7 separate regions of the Homo sapiens genome follow, and regions 1, 2, 3, 5, 6 and 7 are each linked to region 4. The links are contacts of gene promoters, found by promoter capture Hi-C in blood cells and fetal thymus (Javierre and others, 2016). All regions are on one chromosome and are shown on one strand. The core of a region is centred on a gene start or on the middle of the fragment in contact, and the rest is flanking DNA. Distances in the headings are between cores, read along the strand shown.

What was found. The method cuts DNA at HindIII sites, captures the fragments that hold promoters and counts their contacts. A CHiCAGO score of 5 or more calls a contact.
Region 1: a fragment that was not itself captured here is called in contact with the fragment with the promoter of PEX2 in region 4 in 2 of 17 cell types (M2 macrophages and M0 macrophages); the score reaches 6.4 in M2 macrophages.
Region 2: a fragment that was not itself captured here is called in contact with the fragment with the promoter of PEX2 in region 4 in 1 of 17 cell types (M0 macrophages); the score reaches 5.6 in M0 macrophages.
Region 3: a contact is called between a fragment that was not itself captured here and the fragment with the promoter of PEX2 in region 4, in 1 of 17 cell types (M2 macrophages). The highest score is 6.3, in M2 macrophages.
Region 5: a fragment that was not itself captured here is called in contact with the fragment with the promoter of PEX2 in region 4 in 2 of 17 cell types (M2 macrophages and M1 macrophages); the score reaches 6.1 in M2 macrophages.
Region 6: a fragment that was not itself captured here is called in contact with the fragment with the promoter of PEX2 in region 4 in 5 of 17 cell types (M2 macrophages, M1 macrophages, M0 macrophages and 2 more); the score reaches 13.0 in M2 macrophages.
Region 7: a fragment that was not itself captured here is called in contact with the fragment with the promoter of PEX2 in region 4 in 1 of 17 cell types (M2 macrophages); the score reaches 6.0 in M2 macrophages.

What each region holds. Positions count from the first base shown.
Region 1 is chr8:76,350,680-76,353,379 of GRCh38, reverse strand. No RefSeq gene overlaps it. Among named protein-coding and RNA genes, the nearest start is that of LINC01109, 52 kb to the left of the region's middle. The HindIII fragment of the contact is 1,334 bases long and covers 644-1,977 here.
Region 2 is chr8:76,384,581-76,387,280 of GRCh38, reverse strand. No RefSeq gene overlaps it. Among named protein-coding and RNA genes, the nearest start is that of LINC01109, 18 kb to the left of the region's middle. The HindIII fragment of the contact is 3,641 bases long and covers 1-2,700 here.
Region 3 is chr8:76,407,030-76,409,729 of GRCh38, reverse strand. All of the region lies in intron 1 of LINC01111 (long intergenic non-protein coding RNA 1111), which reads right to left. Among named protein-coding and RNA genes, the nearest start is that of LINC01111, 1.7 kb to the right of the region's middle. The HindIII fragment of the contact is 4,473 bases long and covers 1-2,700 here.
Region 4 is chr8:76,998,677-77,001,376 of GRCh38, reverse strand. PEX2 (peroxisomal biogenesis factor 2) reads left to right here and starts at 1,299. Exons shown (of 4, transcript NM_000318.3): 1 at 1,299-1,387. RefSeq lists an enhancer at 1,010-1,304. The HindIII fragment of the contact is 1,935 bases long and covers 1-1,328 here.
Region 5 is chr8:76,424,142-76,426,841 of GRCh38, reverse strand. The region is part of intron 1 of LINC01111 (long intergenic non-protein coding RNA 1111); the gene reads right to left. Among named protein-coding and RNA genes, the nearest start is that of LINC01111, 19 kb to the right of the region's middle. The HindIII fragment of the contact is 5,584 bases long and covers 1-2,700 here.
Region 6 is chr8:76,368,105-76,370,804 of GRCh38, reverse strand. No RefSeq gene overlaps it. Among named protein-coding and RNA genes, the nearest start is that of LINC01109, 35 kb to the left of the region's middle. The HindIII fragment of the contact is 2,587 bases long and covers 46-2,632 here.
Region 7 is chr8:76,453,679-76,456,378 of GRCh38, reverse strand. All of the region lies in intron 2 of LINC01111 (long intergenic non-protein coding RNA 1111), which reads right to left. Among named protein-coding and RNA genes, the nearest start is that of LINC01111, 48 kb to the right of the region's middle. The HindIII fragment of the contact is 1,119 bases long and covers 862-1,980 here.

The DNA of each region.
Region 1 (2,700 bases), core at 61-2,560, 650 kb after region 4:
TTTTCCTGAAGCCTGTAATCTTGAAAGCTTGTAACAGAGGATGAGGTAAATATCATTTTATTTGCTCAAATAGGTTTAGATTAGATTGAGATGAAAAAGTAGGGATGGGCCAAATTAGTACTGAAAGCAGCAATTACAGATTATTGTTTCCAGCAGTAACTAGAATAGGTTATTTCACTGATAAAAAGGCTTATTGAAAAAATTGGTGATTTTCTTTATTTTTTAAATAAATAAGTAAAAGGAAAACATGAAATTAAAACTATGTTTAAGTATTAAAGTCATTGATCTTCTTTCAAATCAAAGCAGAACTTGAATGTGTAAATTTACCTACAAATATAGCCCCTTAACAATGAGTTCTTACAATGCATAAAGTGGCAAATCAGTAAAATACATTTTTGATTATGCAAGCATATTATATGTGATATTATTATTTAGCTTAAAAAAGTCTCTGAACCCTAAAGTCTGAAAGCATAAAATAGGCTCTAAAATTAATTCCTTAAATGACATGATTTCAGAAAAAATAGTGTACCAAACCATTCAAATGATACTGACAATAGGGCATGGAATTTAAAAGGTTTAACCATGTCTTATCTCAGAGTCTGTTTTATTTCTTCATCTTCTGAGCACTTCAAACATATAAGCTTTTATTCCATCTTTAGATCAGTAACTTTGAATTGTTCTACCTGTCATTCTGCAGTGACTAGCCCAGCTAGATGTCATACAATGATTGTTTGCACTTTCATTCTTTCACATTAAATGGCAATCATTCGGTCCTTTTGATTTGTTTCTTTTATTTAGCCCTGAAGTTTTTACACTAGAATCTCATTAAAGCTGAACTAGTGTACTCCTGTCAAAAAACTAATGGAAAAAAGTTTAAAAGTGAAATGTGTCCTCTATATTGTCACTACTAGAGAAGTTGCATCTATCAAGATTTTGCAAGTTTAGCACTTTGATTTATGTTCTATTGGGTCTGCTTGTCTCTTACTTTCTCTCTTCCATCTCATCTACAAAATGAGGAAAACCCAAAGAAACCAAGTTCATTTATGTAAAAGGAAGGACAGAAATATTTAGAAATATTTATGTTACCTCAAGTTCTCTGCTATTTAAATTATGTGTGTGTATACAGCTGAAAAAAAAATAACATTAATGTGTTTTGACATTCAGATGCTTTATTAGCAAGGCAAGTTACAATTGAAATCTTTTCAAAAATAAGTGTATTAAAATAGATCACTTAATGGCTTATTATATAAATGCTTATAGAGAACTCCATTTTTTCTTTCAGAATTAAGAAAATATTCTTCATATAAGGCAAATAACTTATGATCAAGGTAAGGATATCAATCATGACTAAAAATGAGAACTAATAAGAATGATAGTTCTTATATTGCATAGGATTTATTTATGCACAAGTATGTCCCATTGTTTTCAGAAAAAAAAAGTCTGGGTCATATTCATATAATCTAGGCACCACGGACAATGACAAATATATTCATTCAACATGAATCTCCTTTCATCATGTGCTGCTGTTCTGAAAGATAAGTGAAATAGATTGTGTGGAGGCTGATCCCTTTCTGAATTCCAGAAAATAAGATAAATGTCTTCAGAATGCTGGCAAATTAATCCCAGTGAAATTATGAACCACTGACTAAAGATCCGTCCAGAAAGGGATATAAATGGAAAGGGTGATAGCTGTAATTTTACAGGCACCTTTTCTATTCCTGCTGTATTTGTTCACTGATACTATGGTGTATTTTGCTCCTAAATTCTGTATCCAGAAATAAGATGTCCAATATATCTCAATTGAAGTCATAGGTTATATATATAGAATATGTGTGATTCTATTATAGCTATCTTTGTACTCAATATATAGATAGGATTTGAGATTTAGAATACAATTTCATTGTCAATCTCAAATATCTTTCTATTTTAATTATGCATCTATAAATAATTTTAATGGCATACAAGTGAATATAAGCTTTCTAAAAATATTGCTTGATAAAAAAATTTTAGAAAATCTGTTTTCTCTTGTCTTAAATATTTTCTGGATTGCCTAATGCAAATGAACATTTTGCAATGATTTATATAAGGAAGCCTCTAGATTACATAACACTAAATTATTTACTAAGAATTATGACCCCAGAAAGAGACAAATTTAAAGTACATTTTTTTTTGAAATCCTCTCAACAAAACAGCTGTATTTCTACCTTATCACCCATACAATGGCTTTCATAAGTTAATCTCCCCCCAGTATGTGAAACTTTTAATCAGCCCTCTGGTTCTCATTTTTTTTTTTTTTTTTTTTGCTTGTCATTAGTGTTTTATTTTTTAGTGTCAAAGAATCTAAAAAGCCATTTTAAAACAGGTACAAATTTATGCCTATCTAGTATATATGTTGCTTTTCTTATTTTATTTTATTTTTTTAATTTTATTATTATTATACTTTAAGTTTTAGGGTACATGTGCACAACGTGCAAGTTTGTTACATATGTATACATGTGCCATGTTGGTGTACTGCAACCATTAACTCATCATTTAGTATTAGGTATATCTCCTAATGCTATCCCTCCCCCCTCCCCCCACCCCACTAAAGTACATTTCTTATATAATACCATAAAACATGAGAAGGTTTACATTTACGAAAATGTACCATGTGACTTGAAGTGGATCTTTGCTTTTATATAATAAATATACATTATATAT
Region 2 (2,700 bases), core at 109-2,608, 610 kb after region 4:
AACTTTCACCACTTGCTCTGGTGCCATATTTTCCTCTAACATCAGAATGACTTAATAAACTTCTTTGGATTTTGAAAATTTCCCTTGAATCTCTCTCCCAATCTCCCAAAATACAGGTGGCATTTAGTTATTTGTGTGTGTGTGTGTGTGTGTGTGTGTGTGTGTGTGTGTGTGTGTGTGTTTGGCTTTGAGAGTCTTTTGAATTTTCTAAATTATGCTACATTACTGCTTCTGCATGAACTCTGTGGCATGGACTGAATAAATAAATCAGAAAATCAAGTCTTTCTTGTCAACTACATTCCAAGTTTCTTCCCAAAGGTGGCAGTAATCCATGTGGCATTCAAACACTTCTAAATATGTCTAAAGTGTGTGTTTATTGCTCTAATTATTTTCCATGAAAGCAGTTCTACTTTATTACCCAAATGAGAGTTATTATTGTCTTTCCTTCTGATAATTGCATTTGTGGTATTTATTTCAGGGTTTTTAAGATCCTTTAAAACCTATTTAGTTTTTTTACGAATTTAATGCTAATTAAAATAATGGATTAGTAGGCTTGGAAAATCAAATCACTATTCAGCCAGAACAACAGAAGAGCTTATTTAATTGACCACCCTGAATCATATTAAACCAATCCTGAAAGAATCATCACACAGATTCAGATATTGCAGATACTGTCATTCTTTCTATATGACATACTAAAATATTTTTCCAGATATTTTTAAAGAGTAAATTAAAGGCTGATTAAATTAGTAAGTGGTTAATCTCTGATCTCATAAAGAAGGCAGATGGACATTTTTTCAATAAACTTCTATCATTTTTAAAGTTAATTTCTGCAGACATAGTTATTTCAACTGATGCTATGGAAGTCAAGCAACTTTCAATGTGGGGATTATTAACACCATCGAATGCTTTGTTTTTGATCACAGGTGGCTATGGACAGTGAATCACAGCTACTATACAGTTTTCAACCAGGGTGGCAATTTGCCTATCAGGATTAAGATTAGAGTAGAAGGGTAGCCTTTCTTTATGAGAAAATAGTGATATTTTTAAATAAAATGGCAAATTATTTGCCACGGTTTATAAGTTTATCCAAGTTTTAAACTTGTAGTTTTGCAAATATTCTTTATTATCAAATATTTATTATTAACATTAATTATCTTTGTTATTAAATATATCTTTATTATCACATCAGTTGAATTTATTTCTATAAAGTAAATCAATAATAAATTTGATTTGTTTACTGAATTTTTTAAGCTGACTAAATGTTTTGGTGTTTGAAAAACACAGGCAGATTCTGCAAGAGGAAACCGAGTCTAACTGGGTTCAACACATTCTTGATTCATCAGATTTGTTTTAAGATATGGCTTCTAGCTGTTTCAACAGACCAACACCACCTGCAAGTGTGCACTAACCCAGAGAAGGTTCAGACATAGACACTCATACGCCGTGCTGATGATGTACTCTAACACAATCTTTTTGGAGGACAATTTTTAAGTATGTTAAAGTCTCTAAAATGGGCTTAACTATTCGTCCCACAATTTCTTTCTAATTGTTTTTTGGAGACAGGGTCTCACCATGTCACCCAGGCTGGTCTCAAACTTCTGGGCTCAAGCGATCCACCCACCTTAGCCTCACAAATTCCTGGGATTACAGGCATGAACCACTGCACCTGTCCTGTCCTGTAATTTCAATTGCAGAAATCTAATTTATGGAATTCAGCAAGGATGTGTGATTTAATTAGGGGAAATATTCATCACAGTGTTGTTTATAATAGAGAAAAACATAGAAGTAAGCATTTAACTATTATACAGTTAATCCAATAAATTAAGGTACAACACCACGATGGAGAACAATACTGACAAGGAAAGATGTTAACCTATATTTAACCTATATTAAGATCTAATTACAAAATACATATTTGGTGTACTAAATATTATATATCTTTGCAATAAGTGACAGGGACAGTACACTGTGACAACTCTGAGTAGAGTCAGTGGCATTCAAATTTTCTTCTTTTTGGTTGGCTTTATTTTCTAAATATAATTTTACAAGGATGGATATTTTTGTGTAAGAAGGGAAAAGCTAAAATTCACAGCACATATCATGGACTGGTTTTTCAAGAGAGATAACTCTATTTGTCCTTAAACTTTCATCTTTAGCAGAGATGTAAAATGAGGATTTAAGTGAGATATTTTTTTCTTAAACCACTTTATTGAAGTATAATTGACATGCAAAAAGTGGTACATATTTAATGTATATAACTCGATGAGTTTGTGAATAATAATTAGACAACCAATACAGTGTTGTATACTTAAGATTTGCTGAGTATATGTAGATACTGTGTGAAGTGTTCTCACCAGAACAAATAGTAATAATGACAGTGGCATTTTTAATAACATATTGTCTTCTCCAATTTGGGGATTTATCATCTTGGAGTATAAGGCACACAGTCCTATTTCCTATTTTAATGCCTCATCAGTGCTATATGTCAAGGGAGCTCTTGTGTGCTATTTGTATAGGAAATATAAGTGTGTGTATATATACACACACAGACACATACATATACACACAAATATACACACAAACATATACATACACACATACGTGTGTATATATACATACAGCTACATATTACATAATTTATGTACAACATTATTTTATCTATTAACATATTAGCATGTTTCATTAAGAAAAAAATAA
Region 3 (2,700 bases), core at 145-2,644, 590 kb after region 4:
TTGATGAAGATAATAGTTGAAATAAAAATAAGAATTTTTATTGTTTTCTTACAGCTACCTAGATGAGTATCATTATACTTAACAATTTTCAGTATATTTAGAAATGAGAGTATTTAAAAAAGATTTTGAATGATTATTTAAAATTATTTACAGTAACAATGGGTAACACAAAGTATATATTACTTGTATAAAATCTTGCTCCAATTTACTTTTAAGTAACTAGTATTTAAAAGGAACTCTTAAGGCAGAGATTTAAATACACATTAATTTAATTCTCTTATGTCATTGTAATTGTCATAGAATATGTGTTTTTTTCATGATTAAAGTAAAATCTTCCAAGTGATCTCAAAATTACTGAAATATTAGTAAGTCTTTCTATTTATTCCTGGAATGGTCTCTTCTACAAACTATGAAAAGGATCAGACTAAGTATTTAAATATAAAAATTAAACCTATGTTTTTATTTAAGTATAGAGACTGTCAGGTGATACCAAAAGTAAGAATAATTTTTATTTGATCCTATGCTTTGGGGATGTTTTCTATCTTCTACTTTGATTTCGTCATTTCTTGATGTCTATATATGTCAATCATGCATTTTTACTATCAAACACTTTTGGTCATGCATATGTACGCAAATACATATACCATATAAGTACACACACATTTTCTATTCTTAATTGAAAGAATTTGTAGTTATGAACTGTTAATAGTTCTCTAAGTAGCAATGATGTATATACAATTTAAAATCTGAGAGGAAAGCAATTATACCTATATCTATCTATCCACCTATAGATGTAAATATCTATATATGTCCTCTAGAATTAATGCTTCAGTCACATGTCATTTTGTGTCTTCAACTAGAGCACCTACTACTGGCTTTCCTTTCTTCTGCTTGAGACTGACGTCATATAAATATCTATATGTATATAGATATATATCTATCTGTATCTATCTACATATCTTCCTATAGTTGAGAATAAATTATTATACTATTTTGTATATCTATACTGTTTATATATATTTATATAGTTTATATATAACTACTTAAATAAATATGTTTATATTTATAATTTTATCTATTCAAAGATATGTACATGTGTATTCTTATAGGTCTAGAAATTTCCCGTTCGTTATTTGGGTAGAAGAAAATGAAGAAAATGTAATCAAAACAGTGCTGTTGATGATTTCCTTCTTAATAAAAGTGAAAATATTAAACTGACTTTAAAAGTCAAGTCATGAATGTGTGTGTGTTCTAAATGTTGTGGCCTAAGTCTTACAATTCTGAGTGCTTTATAAACACAGCAAAGCCCTCAGCTACCCTACTAAAAAGACCAACAAAACATGTTAATGTTAAATTCAGCAAGGCTCAAGTTCTCAGTTTAACACACATGGGGCTCCACTGCTCTAATCTATACAGGACAAGGACTTACTGGCCCTGGAATGCTCGGCCCTGTTTTCTGGGCCTTGTTCCTCTGGCTAACAACCTTACTAGTTAGTATAACAGTGGCTACATAAGTTATGGTGGGAAAAATGTAACAATAATGTGCATTTTGACCAGTTAGTAAAAAATCCTCTAATATAAACAGAAAGATAACACAGAGAAATTGCCCTGAACTCATGTCATCTTACTATTTTCCTATGCAAGGGGCACAAATAGGCTTGCTCCCTTCTCAAACTTGGATGAGACACTTCAGTTTTAAGTTGGCATTTTAGTTTGTTTTTGGTTTTGGTTTTGATTTTCTGGTTTAAAATATGTACCCAGTTGTATTCCTACACAGAAGGAAGAGATAATAGCCAATAAATATGAACCATATCTACAAAACACTGATAAGAAATCGTACATGCTTTTCTGTGTGGATGTTAAAACAGTATCATTAATATTATTTTGGATAGAATTTTCACTCCTGCTGCTTAGAAAGCAAATGAGCTAATGATATAATTTCTCTTCTTGATAGAGATTCATCAGTGTGTTGATTCCCAAAACTGCATGGTAAGTACATGCACAAACGTAATCAACCAAATCATTAGCATTTATTAAAGAAGACAGTTTCAAATTGATGGGCAGTTCTGAAGAAACGTATAAATATAAATCTTTTCCTTTCTAAATCTTATTTGAATTACAACCAAAATATATTCTTTGAATATAACCAAATGTATTCTTACTTTTTTAAATAAAATGGTCAACACCATCTATTAGAAAAAATATCATTTTGAAGCCTAATAAATTGAATTTCAGACTCATGTGAAATAGCAAATATGTGTTAAAAATGATGCAGTCATGTCTTTGTTTAACATGGATAAATAACATTGTTTCAAACTAATATATCAGTCTCCAATCTTTGCTTGCATTGTGTTATGAAGTTGATGGTTATACTCTGTCATCAGATGTTATCATTAGGACCCCAGAAAAAGAGTTCCATTTAAATATTGTTTCTAACTCTGATAGTAATCAGATTACTGTTATTACTAGATCAAGGCAACTTTATGTTAGTTATCATTCTTCCATCTTTTCACATAAAAGAGTAAATATACAAGTACAGTATTGCCAGTTAGTGGTAATACTCTTGTTTTTCATTAGTAGAGATACTTAGCACCAAACTATCAAATAGTTTATTTTCCTTAAAAGTTAGATTGTGGAATACAAGCATATAGTTTCCCAAAAAGTTATAATTTACATTTTTCTTCTCAGATTTAAAACTCA
Region 4 (2,700 bases), core at 50-2,549:
AGCCACTTTTCAGGTGGCCAGTGACTACTACACTGGACAGTTGCAGCTCTAGAAAATCCACTCCCAAACCCCTAAGTGAACTACATACTCTATCAATTTGTAGCTTCTACTCTATCTCATTTGTACCATTGTTTCACAATTTGGATAGCATTAGAGTTAATAAATTTTATTTTAGCAACTCTGCTCCATGGGTAGTTTCTGAAATAAAAATACAAGCAAAAAAAAAAAAACTTTCCTAATAACACTGGTTCTACAGTATAAGCTCTCCCTCGAATGTCTAATAGAGCTTTCGTAGAAGTGAGTGTTCCTTGTAGGAACGGTGAGTCGAGACTGGAGGTAAGAACTAAGACGTTCTTAAACCCTACTACGTGCTGGAATCCTGAAGTGCCTGCCATCATTCAAACTTAAGCACTAACTCTCTAGAGAGACACTGCCATTCATACCACAGAACGAGAAGGCAGTGGCGATCCTCAACGGCTACATGTCACTGCCTGGTGAGCACTCTTCCCTCAGACCCCATTCCCAGAAGCTCTGCCTCGATTCCCCAGGGGTAGGCGAGCTGGCTGCCCGAATTCCTAAGCGTTACCGGGGAGATGTGAGGGCCTCCGGGGGCGGGAAACCTCAGGCCAGGCGCGCGCTGGCCCGCTCTACGGGGTCTCTCGGGAGCGCTTTGCAGGGCGGATGACTGACGGGCCAGCTACCTGCCTTCCTGAGCCTGCAGAGATAAACAGCCTATCCTCCCTGTGCACACAGGCCCCGAGGGCGGGCAGGTCTCCAAGCGCAGCACAACTGCCCCAGGCCCGACGCAGCCACCTGCCCGAGGGCTCCCTCCCCACCAGGCCATCCCTCAGCCGGTCCTCCTCCGACAGCGAACAAGGAACCCCGGAGGCGCGGAGGCGTCTCGCCGCCACCCGGCGGCGCCTGCCAGAGGCCCTTCGCGATGTCCGCAAGCAGAGAAAGCCCTGCCCTCCCAAGCCCCGGCTTCCCCTAGGCCCCTCGACACTTGTAGTGTCCTCACTTGCGGCCCCTGACCCGGGGCTGACCGGTTCGTGACTCTCCTGCCAATCAGAGACAGAGTTCTTCCGGCCAACCGGCCAATCACCGCGCGCGGGTGTCCGCTTCGGCTTTTCGGCCCTTCGGCTCTTCGGCTTGTCGGCGTTCGCGGTTGTTTGGCCATCCAGTGCCTTCAGCAGCGCCGCTAAAGCGCAGTTCTCGTTGGTGTAACTTTTTCTTTTTTTTTTCAGCCACTTCCGGCTCCTGCGTCGCTCCGGAAGCCTGCGAGTTCCGGAAGCCTTGGTAATCCAGATTCGGCTAGGAAAAGACAAGCTTTCCAGAGAATGTTTCAGAGAAAGTTACGTGGAGCGTGGGCGTTTCGCAGACTCCTAAGGTCAGTGTCTGCCCTAGAGAGCCGGAGTGCAAACCCGAGGTCTTGTTTTCAGCTGGGAGGTCGTGGAGTTTCACGACCTTGTAATTGTCGCCGTTTGCTTTTTTTTCCCTGTTTATTGGCTTCCTGTCTCCCTGGAAAAGGCAAATCAAAGCTGCTGAATTTTGGGAAAGGCAGTGAAGCAAACCTAAACTCCTAAAGATGTTTTTAGGATCGCGGCATTAAAAATAAACACACACACAGCTGCAGTTGAGCCCCTCTGCATTCCACGTAGTAACTTAAGAGACGAACTTCGAAATCTTTTTCTCTCATTTGGCGGTCGTGAAGATATTTACCTCTTATAAACGGCTTTATAAAGAATTGAGGATCCAAACTTTACTTAATATCTGAAAGTTCATGTAAAGTGTTATATGTAGTACAAAAAATTTGAGTGCTTAGTTTTCTAACACTGTTGAAAGCGCACGTAAATGCAGTTTGGTTTTCTTATGGAGGAAGAGATAATGAAAAGTTTCTGATAAAATTGCTTGCGATAAATTAGTTATATTTCACGTTGACTTTTGATAAGAAATCTGAATGTGAGAATTGTTAACATTTTTTCCTGGGTTCTTAAATTAAAAATCGTTGTTTGTTTATTTATTGAGGTACCATTTTCCAAATTTCCCACATTTAGTGAAAGGGCTTTTGGCAAAATGAGCAAGCTGTTGAACGTTCAAGTCTAACACATTCTGTTAAACTTCCGTGATGCCCCTCGGAAATATTTTATCTTGACGTTTCGGACAATTAAATGATACTTGGGCGCTCACAACACCGCAGCTTGTAGTCTAAACACCTTCCCCTAAAGTGTTACCTTTACTTAATCCTGAACAGAATGAACTTGGGGTGGCTCTTTTAACTTATCTGATCTCACCTATATTATCAATTACTTGTTTCCAGAAAGATTACAGTTGAGTGATCTTGAGCCAGAAAGAGATTTGAAAGAATTATTTACAGAGTCAAAAAAAAAAACCCTTCATATTTTTTTCTTAAAAAAAAAAATAGAAGTAACAGGACATAGAGCGAATACTAGACTAGTAGACTGAAGAGTATTAGACTAAATCAAGACAGTTGGATTCTAGTCCTGACTCTAGTTGCCTTTGTACAATTTTACCTCTTGGCCGTATTCTCCTTATTTTTAGAAACTAGTGTTAGTACTCAAGCTGGGGTTTTAAAACTGTTCCATAGGAGAACTTGTGTAGAAATTTTCTGGAGCCGTGCAGGGAGAGACAAAGCAAGCCCACCCTCAGGTTTATTTTAACAAGAGCAGCCATTTAGGTGTT
Region 5 (2,700 bases), core at 42-2,541, 570 kb after region 4:
AAAATTGAATTGGATTATAGAAAAATAAATAGGAGAGAAAACCTGGAATTGAATTCCATAATCACAGGAAACATGTGGATTCACTTAGGGCTACAGGTGTTTCTTGGGTAAAGGAGGGTACGGCCTGTTTCTGAATTGGTCCCTATTTGGGTCCAGAGGCATCCCGAATGTCAAGAAGACTGAGGTGGTGCCTAGGTATTGGAGATTGGATGGTGAGGGGTGTCAAAAATTTAATTTGCGATAATATTTTTGAGCTGTAAATCCACCAAGAACTTTCTCTGACAGCTTTTATGCTGAAAACCTCCACGGATGTTTCATTTTGAGAGACAGTGTAGTGTAGTTAAGAGCATGGATTCTAGAGTTGATCTGCTTGTGTTTAATTTCAAGATCCACTATTTATTTGCTGCACGTCCTTGCTCAACTTACTTACTTACTCTCTCTGTTCTTCTATTTCCTCATCTTCAGATGGCGGTAATATTATCTACCTCATAGTTGAGGTATTAAATTAGTTGATACAGGCAGGACACTTATGACAGTACATGGCATATAGCAAATATTTACATAGCACCTACTAGTATTATTTACCAGCCTTTAGCTTAAATTAATACCAGTCATATTTATGAAATACCAGTCCCCTTCCTTGATTAAAAAGACAAAATTGACAAATGGGATCTAATTAAACTAAAGAGCTTCTGCACAGCAAAAGAAACTACCATCAGAGTGAACAGGCAACCTACAACATGGGAGAAAATTTTTGCAACCTACTCATCTGACAAAGGGCTAATATCCAGAATCTACAATGAACTCAAACAAATTTACAAGAAAAAAACAAACAACCCCATCAAAAAGTGGGCGAAGGACATGAACAGACACTTCTCAAAAGAAGACATTTATGCAGCCAAAAAACACATGAAGAAATGCTCATCATCACTGGCCATCAGAGAAATGCAAATCAAAACCACTATGAGATATCATCTCACACCATTTAGAATGGCAATCATTAAAAAGTCAGGAAACAACAGGTGCTGGAGAGGATGCGGAGAAATAGGAACACTTTTACACTGTTGGTGGGACTGTAAACTAGTTCAACCATTGTGGAAGTCAGTGTGGCGATTCCTCAGGGATCTAGAACTAGAAATACCATTTGACCCAGCCATCCCATTACTGGGTATATACCCAAATGAGTATAAATCATGCTGCTATAAAGACACATGCACACGTATGTTTATTGCGGCACTATTCACAATAGCAAAGACTTGGAACCAACCCAAATGTCCAACAATGATAGACTGGATTAAGAAAATGTGGCACATATACACCATGGAATACTATGCAGCCATAAAAAATGATGAGTTCATATCCTTTGTAGGGACATGGATGAAATTGGAAACCATCATTCTCAGTAAACTATCGCAAGAACAAAAAACCAAACACCGCATATTCTCACTCATAGGTGGGAATTGAACAATGAGATCACATGGACACAGGAAGGGGAATATCACACTCTGGGGACTGTGGTGGGGTCGGGGGAGGGGGAAGGGATAGCATTGGGAGATATACCTAATGCTAGATGACACATTAGTGGGTGCAGCGCACCAGCATGGCACATGTATACATATGTAACTAACCTGCACAATGTGCACATGTACCCTAAAACTTAGAGTATAATAAAAAAAAAAAAAAAAAAAAAAAAAACCAGCTCCCCATACATCTAGTTAACAACCCAAAGTCTGTATCTACCACTAAACATGGCAACTTAGTCATTTACCAACTTAGGTTCACATTCAGTGGAAAGAAAATAAGTGATAAGGTAAAGTTTAGGAAGAACTGACCCACTTATGCCTAGTGTTCCATTATTGGAGTGCTAAGAATGTGAGAGTTTTTTATATCCTGCTGCTCAAGGTTATTACCAAGGTCTGATTTTTTCACTCATGTAAAAGTTCAAAAAATGGCAACCTCTGGCATAAATGGGTTAATAATAGCCAGGGACAAAGGTGATGGACGCAGATGCAGGAGATCAAGTGCTATTTTTGGCACAAAGTTACTCACTGTCTCCGGGTGATACTCTGTTGAGATTACCTGGTCACTGAAATCTCAGACTGACTTTCCAGCTGGATTTTACACAGTATGAGACAATAATTTTTATGAAACAGGGAAAGGGTAATTCATAGCAAGTGTGATGTGGCTATTTATACATATGTGTATGTATATGCTCCCACACATATTTATAAACTAATTTGTACTAGATAAAATTAATGCATAATTGACTTATTTTTTAGGTGACAAAATAGTGAAGCAAAAGTTTAAATATACCATGCTAAACTTACAAAATAGAAAGTACAAGAATTTTCCCACGTATTTTTCTCTATAAAATTTTTGAAAATTTACTAAACATATTGTTAACCTGGCTCATGTAAGTTTAGATTTTCATATAAATAGAAGACATAATTACTCTAGAAATGCATGTGCCCATAATTGCATTTTAAAACTTTTGCTTTTATAATTGCTGCTTCTGAGGATTTCTCACATGCACACACACACACACACACACACACACACACACACAAATTGTTACTTAGATTAGCCAAACATCATATGATCTACCACTTTTCTTAAATCTAGTGACCATTTTTTAGGCTCTTCGGACATGACTCTGTCAGGCTTTTGCAATAGAGAGACTTTTAGTTTATTTATTTTGCG
Region 6 (2,700 bases), core at 90-2,589, 630 kb after region 4:
GTGCAATAGTAATTTTCATCATTCCTTCCAAAGGTTTGGCAAGCTTTGAAAATTCATATGTAATAGCAGCTAGCATTTCTAAGTGAAAATACTTTAAAATCATCTTGGGATATATAGTCTATTAAGGGAAAAACTTCATTTTCTTTCCATAAAGAACATATAATTCTATTTCAGAACCTTATATTGAGTCTATTTAAATAAGTGTATTTTCAGTGCATATTTTTTATTGCATAGTTGATGGTTATATCTTCCTTTCTCTTTTTGCTTTATTTCAAAACAGGAAGTACATTTAGTTAAAAATCAAGGATCATATATTCAACAAATTTCTGAAAACTATTTTGTTAAAAAATGACTTTCTGGACAAAGAATAGGTTGAGAAATCTAAAATACTGCTGTACTTTCTCTTATTCTACAACGGATATTGTGAAAATCATATAAATACAAATTTCCTAGAGAATTGAAGGGAAAATATTTTAAATATTTTAAAGTTCTTAATAAAACCCAATTTCTTTTACATCAGTTGAACATGTTATAAGACAGCCAGAGCTTTTGCCTTATAGAATTACTTATTTATGTACATTCATATATTCTCTCATGAAAGTATGGCTTTTGTTGTTCTATTACTGGGAAACATGAAATATTTTTAAGTGATTCCAAAACTTGTTTTCTCCTGTCTAGGAACATAAAAATGAATAAATTCTAGAGGACAATTAACTGAGCTAGCCTTGTCCCAACATATGTCTAAAATAACTACCAAACAAGTAAAATATTTATTTCCATTCATGATATATCATTTTAAGTGATGCTTTTTAAAAATATTTATTACTTAAATATAAACATCTATTTGCTCTCTTGAATTCACGACACAGTTGTAGGACATCATGGGAGAGAATGAATTTTTTCATTGTAGTGTTGTTGATTGTTTTTTCTCTCCATTTCTGCCTTGCTTTTACCAACACTCCTTATTTTAAAAGAATTTTTAAATAGGGGAAACATAACGATTATTCAAAAAAGGAAAGTATGACTCTTACTTAAGCAGTTAATACTATGTGAATGTGCCAAACATCTGGGCTTTATATTACTTTGGTTAAAACATCTGTTACCTTTAGCTCTTTCATGTCTGTCATCCTTATAAAATTTCCCAGTAAGGTCTTAGTGATTCTTTTTCCATCCTTTAATTAAGATGTGCTTTAACTATGTAGTACTACAGTGAGTCACTTCCAGGAACTTCTTTATTAAAAAGTAAAAAAAAAATAATTAATTAGATACTTCACTTGGATGAAAATTCAAGGAATGATTATGGCTGAAATAAGGTAGAAAGGAAGGCATATTTATAATCACAACTTTAGGGGTAGACAGTTTTTTTTTGATGCAATAAATTTACAATTTATAGAGATACAACTGTCCTAATTGCAAAGAAAAATCCTGACCTACCATCCCAGGAATCAAAAACAAAGCCAAACTTCTCATTTCTTTTCAATTATAACACAATCATAATCTTATATAAAATATTGTTGAGGTAAATCCTACATATTAAAGCAGAAATTTTACTTCAATAATTTACTAAGTTACCTACTTGTCAATCTATTTTTTCTACTGAAATATTTACTTGGAATACCTTTTTTGGTCGCTATGCATTGACTTCTAAAAGTATTATTTTGACTCATATTTAGTTCTCTTTAGTATCCGAAAGCTGTCTAAACAGCTTCCTAGTGAAAATGGTAGCCCACTGCTAGCCCGCTGATGAGAGACGCTGTGTAGCAAATAGAATTTTGTGTCATTGGCTATGCCAGCAATGTGTTATTGCCTATGTTTTGATTTTGAGTAATAGGGTATACGTTCTTATTACTCAGTAGACTGTTTTTCCAACAACACAAAACACTGTATCTCAGCTTTACTAGATTTTCTGTTTGCTCTGAACATATTGCCTTAAATAAATTATTCTTTTCATATTTAAAAAGTGAGTCACAAGTATAATATCAAAGACTATACAAAGCACAATGTATTCACGTCAGAATCATCTTTGACCCATTAACCCTGAGAGGGAAGAGATGTCATGGGTTTTGGGAGGCAACATAAATGGCCATATTTGGACTTGCATATTTGAATTTGTAAACGATATTTAAGAAGAGCCAAGGAGATAAAATTCTTTTAACACTATGCTATACCTTATAAATTATAAATTGCTATTGTTTTGATTAAGTAAAAATACAGTTATCTTAAAGACAAGATCTTTTTTTTTCTACAGAGTCAAGAATCATGAAGATCGGAGGTAGAATGATACTCACAGAAATCAAATAAATAAAAAATAGGTTATTTACATTCAAAAATATTTCACGGTGAGAATTTTGCAAAGTATTGTAGGGAACAAGCTAAAAAATAACTGTTTCTCTTAGATTTGGGCATGCATATACTTCTGATTGTTCCCAGAAATTTACCATATATAATACTTTTGTTACTATAATTAATAAGAACTAACTATTGTGGAATAAGTTTGGTAGAAGCCATGGTCTGTTTGTGACAATTAATAGAGTGAGAACTAATTAGTATTTAAGAATGTAGCAAGAATTTACTCTCAATTAAAGCTGGGTTCCATGATGAGAATGTAGTTAATAAATACCATAGGAAAGCTTATAAAGTACTTTGAAGATAGGATGCAAGAGGACATGAAATCCTTAACTATTTTCATGGATATATTTT
Region 7 (2,700 bases), core at 172-2,671, 550 kb after region 4:
TACTTGCTTTTTTCCAATACTGACAAAATACACTGCTGCTGTTTTTTTTAAACCTTTTATTCCTGAATATGACACCCCAATTATTATCTTGTTCACAATTGTGATGAATATATATCTTATTAAGATGTCTCCTGCTTGATTTAAATCAACACTTCTCTCCCTGTTTATACCACACATACTTTCAGCTCAGTGATTCCCAACAGAGGGCAATCCCTTCCTCACCCCACACCCCCAAGCAGAACATTGGCAATGTCTGGAGACATTTTTTATTGTCTTGACTGTGTGCGGAGGGCAGGGGGCTACTGGCGTCTAGAGGGTGGAAGGCTGGGATGTTGCTAAATAGCTTACAACACACAGGACAGCTCCCTACAACAACAAATTATTCCATCTAAAATGTCAGTAGTGCAAGGTTAGGAAGCCCTGCCCTAGAGTTTAAGTTTCAAGATGGCCTTTACCTGCAAATCACAGTCTTTGGAATTGCAGTGTGATTTGCTGGGGTTTCTCAATAGCTACTACCCTGTTCCCTACACCCCCAGCCCCCAGCAAACACCTGGGTGATGTGTGACATACTTTTTATTAACAATATTTTCCTGGGGGAATGATGTGGGAGGATGTGGACAATGGCAGCATGCCTATAATTTGAGAAGAGTTCCCAGGTAATTTCTTTATTGCCCACTCCTCTCAACAATTGAGTTACCACTATAATTTAGAAAGTCTGAAGACAGTGATTGTCAAAGTGCTTTGATTTACATCCTTCTCCATCTTCTCCCCTCCCAAAGATTTACCACGTGTTTGTCCATGGCTGCTTTTGAAAGATATAAAATGTCTCAAGCTAGAATTTTCTACTTATAAAATAAAGCTTATTTTGTTATGTAGTGATGTTGGAAAAAATAAGTCGTAAAATTTCTGAGAAGGTACTTATATATTAATTCCATGGTATTACTCCAGGAATTTAGACAAATAATCTGTTCCTTGGTAAATATGGATGACTTACAGAAAGTCAGTTTTATTTGATATTAAGCACTTTTACTTAAGCACTTATTTTGACATCCCCAATCCATCTAGTCTATGGAATAAACCATACGTTTTAATTTCCAAAATTTGGATCTTTGGTCACTTAGCATTAATATATTTATTTCTATTATGTGTAATATATATTATTCACTCATAAAAATATATATTCTCTATATGTGTAATATATGTCTGTGATAGTATATACAATATAAGGTATAGATAATATAATAATGCCTGTGATATCATATAGAATATGTATGTTCATTCTTATGGTTATTTCCTGCAAGCCCCAAACCCCTGCACTCCTGTTCAAAGCAGTAAATTGCTGCAGCCAACCCTATGGACTCAGAATTCAGTGATGCCTCAGATAGAGGCAGTGTTGACCACAGATACCACTTCCCTCCCTCCTCACTGAGCACAGATGCCACCTCTGTTCACTGTAGTCTGCCAACATTTTCTCTTTCAGTTTCTAATGTGGCAAGAAGGGAAGGGCTGATTGTGGTTCTGGAAAGAAAGAACAGGTTGAAAGGGTGAGAGATCTTGGCAGTAGTTACTCCTTATTTCTGCCCTGTTTGATAGCCTTTCTGCCTGCTTTCACAAGCATATAGGCTGTATTTGGTTTTCCAGTTGCTACTTTCGGAGTTCATCTTCGTCTGTTTATGTGTAACGGGTACCAACACTTTCAACATAGTTATTAGAAATAATCATTTTAAAACATTTTCAAGTCATTTGAAAAATGTCCTACCTCTCAAGTAGGGCTCACATAATACACAAATATCAATTGCTTTGCTAGTCATTATATTTATGTATATTTTATCTTAGTATGTGATCATTGGGACAATAAAATAATATTAAATAAAAATTTGGTAAGAGAAATAAAAAATCTCTGGTAATAAATAGCATAGAAGGCAAAAGTATTTTACAAAGTTGTTTTCAGAGAAGTGGAAGTGGCATCTCAATGAAGCTTTTCAAACATGACTTACCAGAGTGGCTAGTCTGAGTCCAACACAAAACTATTGACATATTTTCCATTGAAGGGGAAGGTAAATGTGAATCTTAAAGTGCTGCAATCTTCACTTTGCTTGTTTCCCCCACTTTTCATAATCAGTGACAATCCGTTGTATTTTCCTTGCATCTCAATTTAAATCTAAATAAATTAATATTTTACATTTATATTGTTAGCTGCAATTAAGATATAAGAACTCTTCTGATTTTAGGCATTTGTTTTTATTTATTCTCAAGTATGCCATCTGTCAGAATTGAGAAAAAAATAGCAACATATGGATGAATTCTTTGTGTTTCTCTAGATATTTTAGAATCAATATGTTCCAAGATATGTTGCCAACTACATGTTTTTGATTGCTGGTGCTTACATTTGGGTTTATGAATTAACTTGCAGACAATAAAAGGTAAAACTTCAGCTCTTGCAGGGAGTAGTCTATGCATTAATACTAAAAAACATGCAGCTTGTATATTTCAAAATAACTAGAGGAGTGGATTTGGGATGTTCCCAATACAAAGAAATGATAAATATTTGAGGTAATAGATGTCGCAGTTACCCTGATTTGATCACTACGCATTATATGCTTATATCAAAATATCACATGTACCCCATACATATGTACAGCTATTATGTACCCACAACAATTTTTGAAGGTAAAAAACATGTGGCATAAATTTCTATTT